Regions from separate parts of the Homo sapiens genome. Here region 2 is linked to region 1. Evidence: promoter capture Hi-C in 16 types of primary human blood cells and fetal thymus (Javierre and others, 2016). All regions are on one chromosome and are shown on one strand. Each heading gives the region's core, a stretch centred on a gene start or on the middle of the fragment in contact. The rest is flanking DNA. Distances are from core to core; before and after follow the strand shown. Region 1 holds the start of TCL1B (TCL1 family AKT coactivator B). Region 2 has its middle 53 kb from the start of C14orf132.

Region 1 (3,203 bases), core at 215-2,714:
AGCTTCGCCTCCCGGGTTCACGCCATTCTCCTGCCTCAGCCTCCCGAGTAGCTGGGACTACAGGCGTCCACCACCACGCCCGGCTAATTTTTTGTATTTTTAGTAGAGACGGGGTTTCCCCATGTTGGCTAGGATGGTCTCGATCTCCTGATCTCGTGATAAGCCCATCTCGGCCTCCCAAAGTGCTGGGATTACAGGCGTGAGCCACCGCGCCCAGCCCTAAATGGCATTTTAAATATCCGGATATGCTTTTACCACATTACACTAAGGTACAGCCAGCCCCCCATTTCCATGGATACTGCACCCATGAATTCGACTAACCTCAGATTAAAAATATTTTGGGAAAAAAAGAAATTCCACAAAGTTCCCAAAAGCAGAGCTTGAAGTGATGTGTAGGTGTAGCATTAGGTGTTATTAGTAATCTGATTTCAAATATAGTAGAGGATGCGCTGAGGTTATATGTAATTACTACCCAGGTCATTTTCTATCAGGGACTTGAGCATCCACAGTCGGTCCTGGAATCAATTCCCCACCGCCACCCACACCAGAAACGCTACTGTATTTACTTCATCCCTCAAAGACTGGCTGTGATCTAAAGCCCTCATCTACAGCCGTTTCCTGAGTCATTATCATTATCACCTGGGGAGCTTTTGAAAAGTAAAGAATCTAGGACTCCACCCAAGCCTCCTGAATTAATTTCCAGAATCTGTTATCAGTCAAATGCTTCCCCAGGCCATTCAGGCGGTGAGCCATGTATGTGAGCATGTCTGTGACTAGCTTGCCACAGAGGTATATTATTCTCATTTTGCAGATCAGTAATCTGACACCAATGTCATGTTCATCCTGTTGGCCCACCTGGTGCCTCCAGGCTGCAATGCTTTTGCTTATACTACTCCTGCCTCCTTTCTAGACCTGGAGAACTCCTACTCATCCCACAAAGCCCAGCTCAATAGCTGCCCCATTTGTGGGCCTTCCCAGCAGGCACTGGGAATGGCACTAAGCCCTGAGCTACCTTAGCCTCGGCTTCACCACGCAGGACCACATTATCTCATGTGGATAAGCTTGTGCCTGTGGTCCCTTTACGGGGGGTGTTCCTGGGGCCAGGGCTGGGCATGGACATTGCTGCGCTCCTAGACCTGCACAGAAGTGAGTTTTCCAGTGCGGGTGAGAACGGCCCCCTCTGACCCCCACCGCGGTCCCACACGGGCAGGGGTCAGTGCGCAGCCCTCCCCACAGCCTCCCCTCGTGCCCAGGACTCACTCTGCTGCCCTGGGAGGCCCTGGCCCATTCCCTACGCGAGGGATTGAACCGCACGACCACAGTCACCCAGGTTCTCCCCTCCTCATCTTCGTAGATGCCAGGCCTCTGGATCCACAGACGGCCAGGGGGCACCCCTAGACGCACAGAAGCTTCGGAGGCCATGGCAAGTCTGCAACCGGGACCCGCCTCTAGGCTCACACGTGTAGCTTTCCAGCTGCGCAATCTCCTTAAATGGAGCAGCTCCGGCGTGGGTGGGGCCCGGGCCGGCAGTGGGGGCGGGGCCGGCAGTGGGGGCGGGGCCAGTCGGGGGAGGAGGGGGAGGAGGAGGAAGGGGGAGGAGGGAGGAGGGAGGAGGGAGGAGGAGGAGGGGGGAAAAAAGCAACCTGCAGCAGGGGCTAGGCAGGGACGAGGCCAAAGAGCAGCGGAGTTAGGAACCCGGCCTGGGTCTCCTGGAGGGGCTGTGGCTGGACCGGCAGCTGCTGGAGGCAAAAGGGCGGCTCCCGGGGATAGAGCTGCCCAGGCTTCACCCCAGGCCTCTGCAAGGAATTTGGCTCCTAAGACCTATTCCACCTCCCTTCCACTGGTCCCAGTCCCTCCGCAGCCTCCTCCCTGAGCACCCCTGCCCAATTTTCTGTCAGGTGATTCCCCTCCTTTGCTCCCCACGACCCCCTGCCAACCATCCTGCCCCAGATCCTGAGCTGGCATGCACGACCCTGGTCTCTCCTATCCCTGTGGCCATTCCTTTAACAGGACTCTGTGTCAGGGACCCTTCTCTGAGCTTAGAGCTTAGAGGCATGGGGGGCGGGGGGCGCTGTAACCTCAGTGGACTCTTGCCCCTGGAGGTATCTGGTGAAGGCGCATCCTGCACAAATCAAGCTCCCTCTCCTTAGAAAATAAGCCAGTGCACTATCAGCATCTGAGCTCAGGATCAGATAAAGCCCACAGAAACAAGGCCACCGGAGGCCACGTGGCCACCTGGCCAGCCCATCCTTGGCCATGGGGCCCAGAGTGCCCACTTGGCCTGGTCGTCTTACTTGCTCGACTTTGTCAAGAGGCCTCAGAAGCTCAAGAACATAGCAAGAAGCAGGTCCGTTCTATAAGCACCCTGGGCTGCTTCTAAATGCACCATGAATAGGAACCTTTTCCTTTTGAAAACCACAAGCATGATTCTTCTAGTTCAAGTGAAGATTAGTATTGAGATGATGCCATTCTGCTGGGGAGATGTGAAAATGATTTCTGGACAGTCCTGATCCAGTGTAAATGGCAGGTAGGATAACCACTTTTGAAGAACTCCCTGGGCAGCTTCTGTGGAGGACTGAGTCTTGTTTTCACAGCAATTCCACCTCCATCCCCAGTGTTTTTCCAAGGAACCAACACTTGGGGTGGGAATGGAGTGGGCCAGGAAGACAAGGGACATCACAGTCTCATATAATGTGATCCATACATGGAATCACGTACGTGTGTCACCTTTGCCATATTCCATTGGTCAGGGGTAGGTCCTATCCTTACTCAAGGTTATGAATACCAGGAGGCAGGGATCATGGGGACCCCTGGTCTCCTGGGCCCCCCTGAAGCCTGTTTGCTGTAGGTACCTACCCTATGGGACTCCTCTGAGGATCAGATGAGGCTGTGTGTATAGTGTTAAAGCCTGACACATAGTGAATACTTGAAATACCCTGGTCAATAGTTATGTTCTCAGACTAGTTCCCTCTCCCAGGCAGAATCCATCATTCCTACCCTTGTAACCCCAATGCAATTGCTATTTATCTCTATCATTTTCTGTTGCAAATATATATTTTGATATTCTCAACCTCACTCCCTGATGGGCAGGTGTGTGGCTGTCAGTGGGGTTGGAGGTAAAGGTTGCCTAATATGTGGGGAGCCCCTATGCCATGTCAGGCATTTTTCATAGGGTATCTCACTAACACCTCCCAACAACTCCA
Region 2 (3,168 bases), core at 206-2,705, 300 kb before region 1:
CTAGCATAATACTATTTATAAATGCAGTTGTATATTATTTATATATAAATACATAGTATTTCAGTAAATTAAAGAATATAAAATAATGTAAGTTCCCCCCAAACCTAGCCCACACAGTTTACTGAAGGGCTAGAGTGAGAAAGAGGAGAGAGAGCTATCAGTGAGTCTTCCAGCTCCTCCCTCACGCTCAGAAATAAAAGCAGAAAAAATAAGTGCAATCAAACTTGTAGACTGGTTCAGAAGAGGTTCTAGAAGTCCAGGGACCAGGAGCATCAGAATTTTATTAAAATTTGGAAACTTCATAACTACCTAAACATGCTATTTTGTTATTCAATATCTGTTCCTACTCAGTGACTTGAAGAAAAGTAGCACATAGTCAGAATATTGGTCAGGACAGGCTAGGGTCTGCTGCAGAAACTAACTAACCCAGGAATCTCTATGACTTCATGGAATAAAGGTTTATGTTTTTCCTTGTGTAAAGTTCAATGTGCTCAGGGGGGTCTCTTCTACTTTTTAGTATGTCACTTGATATATACTGCCTCTGCAAGAGAGAAAGACACATGCCACTTGCATTCACAGGCCATAATTATTCACAGTCTCAATCCAGCTGCAAGGGAGGCTGAGAAGTGCAAAGAAGCACATGGAATACTTGGTGTATGCCATCTCTGCTGAGCGTGCCCTTCTCATCACTGTCTTCTCATTTCTTTCTGCCCCCACATAGAGCTCACTCAACCCCTCCTCTAAAATCTCCCCCAGTCACCACATCCAGTTCAAACTCAGATCTCTGGGTGATGTCTGGCCTTCTTCCCAGCAAGTTCGCATGTGGCTCCTTTTGGTCCAAGGATACCAAAACTGGAAAAAAAAAAAAAGTCACCTGCCAACCCTGCTTCCAATATATAATGATGAAACTGAGATAATATGGCCTCAATAGGCACCTCCCACTTGGAAAAGGGAAGGATGGGAAGTACATAGAGTCACTGTCCATAGCAATTCTGAAATCCCACTGGGCAGACGTCATGAAAGCCCATATCCTCGGCATCCATGATTAGGCTCTAGTTTTGCTCTCTGAGAGATGCTGCTTTGTTCACTTTTCTCCATGAGCCTGGTTCTACCCATGAGGTTATTTCTTTTTTTGTAAGCTTCCTTGGTAGCACATGAATCAGGCATTGAGAAATAAGCCCTCCTTATGGACTGCTGTTCTAAAAGTTTGGTACAAGCCTTAAGGCTTGAAGACTGAAGGTCTTATTCAGTCTGTCTGTATGGTTCTTTGGTAACATGACCCTCAAAAATGTAGCACAAGTATAAACTTCATTTTATTGCACTTCACTTTTTTGCACTTCACAGATATTCCATCTATTACAAATTAAAGGGTTATAGCAACTCTGTGTTCAGCAAGTCTTATTTTTCTAACAGCATGTGCTCACTTTGTGTCTCTGTTTCACATTTTGGTAATCTCAAAATACTTCAGACTTTTTCATTATTATATCTGTTATGGTGATCTGTGATCAATGATCTCTGATGTCACTACTGCAATTGTCTTGGGGTGCCATAAACAGTGAACTTAGTTGATAAATGCATGTGTTCTGACTGCTTCATTGATTAGCTGATCTATCATCTCTCCCCCTCTCCTCAAGCCTCCCTATTTCCTGAGACATAACAATATTGCCATTAGGCCAGTTAATAACCCTACAATGGGCCTTGAAGCATTCAGGTGAAAAGAAAAGTCACACGTCTGTCACTTTAAATTAAAAGCTAGAAATGATTAAGCTTAGTGAGGAAGGCATGTCAAAAAAAGTGAGACAGACCAAAAGCTAGGCCTCTTGGGCCAGTTAGCCAAGTTGTGAATGTAAAGGAAAAATTCTTGAAGGAAATTAAAAGTGCTGCTCCAGTAAACACACAAAAGATAAGAAGGCTAAGCAGCCTTATTGCTGATATGGAGAAAGTTTTAGTGATAAGAATAGAAGATCAAGTCAGCCACATTTTCTTAAGCCAAAGCCTAACCCAGAACAAGGCCCCAACTCTCTTCAGTTCTGTGAAGGTTGAGAGAAGTGAAGAAGCTGCAGAAGAAAAGCTGGAAGCTAGCAAAGGTTGGTTCATGAGGTTTAAGGAAAGAAGCTGTCTCCATAACATGTAAGAGCAAGGGAAAGCAGCAAGTGCTGATGTAGAAGTTGCAGCAAGTTATCCAGAAGACCACTGATGAAGGTGGCTTCAGTGTAGATGAAACAGCCTTCTACTAGAAGAAAAGGCCATCTAGGACTTCCATAGCTGAAGAGGAGAAATTAATGAAATTGATTACTGAATAAATTACTGAGTATCTTAAGTCCCCTGTTGAGACTTACTGCTCATAAGAAAAGATTCCTTTCAAAATATTACTGCTCATTGACAACGAGCCTAGTCACCCAAGAGCTCTGATGGAGCTGTACAAGGAGACGAATATTGTTTCGATGCTTGCTAGCACAACATCCATTCTGCAGCCCAAGGATCAAGAGGTAATTTTGACTTTCAAGTCTTATTATTTAAGAAATACATTTTATAAGGCTATAGCTGCCATAGATAGTGAATCCTCTGATGGATCTGGACAAAGTAAATTGAATACTTTCTGGAAAACACTCACCATTCTAAATGTCATTAAGAACATTCCTTATCCATAGGAGGAAGTCAAAATATCAATATGAACAGGAATTTGAAAGACATTGATTTCAACCCTCATGAATGACTTCCAGGGGTTCAAGACTTTGCAGAGGAAGTAACTACTGATGTAGTGGAAACAGCAAGAGAACTAGAATTAGAAGGGAAACTTGAAGATATCAGTGAATTGCTAAAATCTCTTGAGATGAAGTCAACTCCCAGTGAAGATGCTTTGAATATTATTGAAATGACAGCAAAGGATTTAGAATATTACATACAATGAGTTGATAAAGCAGTGATAGGGTTTGAGAGGACTGACTTCAATTTTGAAAGAAGTTCTACTGTGGGTAAAATGCTATCTAAGAGCATACAATACTACAGAGAATATTTTGTGAAGAAAAGAGTTAATCGATATGGGAAACTTCATGTTTGTCTATTTTAATAAATTGTCACAGCCACACCAACCATCAGCAACCGTCACCCTGATCAGTCAGCAGCTTTCAGCATCAAGGCAAGACCCTACACCAATGAAAAGATTAC

The links. Contacts are between HindIII fragments. The CHiCAGO score rates a contact against its expected background, and 5 or more counts as called.
Region 2: a contact is called between a fragment that was not itself captured here and the fragment with the promoter of TCL1B in region 1, in 1 of 17 cell types (naive B cells). The highest score is 6.8, in naive B cells.

What each region holds. Positions count from the first base shown.
Region 1 is chr14:95,684,687-95,687,889 of GRCh38, reverse strand. It overlaps TCL1B (TCL1 family AKT coactivator B), which reads right to left and starts at 1,464. Exons shown (of 4, transcript NM_004918.4): 1 at 1,261-1,464. The coding sequence starts at 1,422. The HindIII fragment of the contact is 10,915 bases long and covers 1,412-3,203 here.
Region 2 is chr14:95,985,151-95,988,318 of GRCh38, reverse strand. No RefSeq gene overlaps it. Among named protein-coding and RNA genes, the nearest start is that of C14orf132, 53 kb to the left of the region's middle. The HindIII fragment of the contact is 628 bases long and covers 1,142-1,769 here.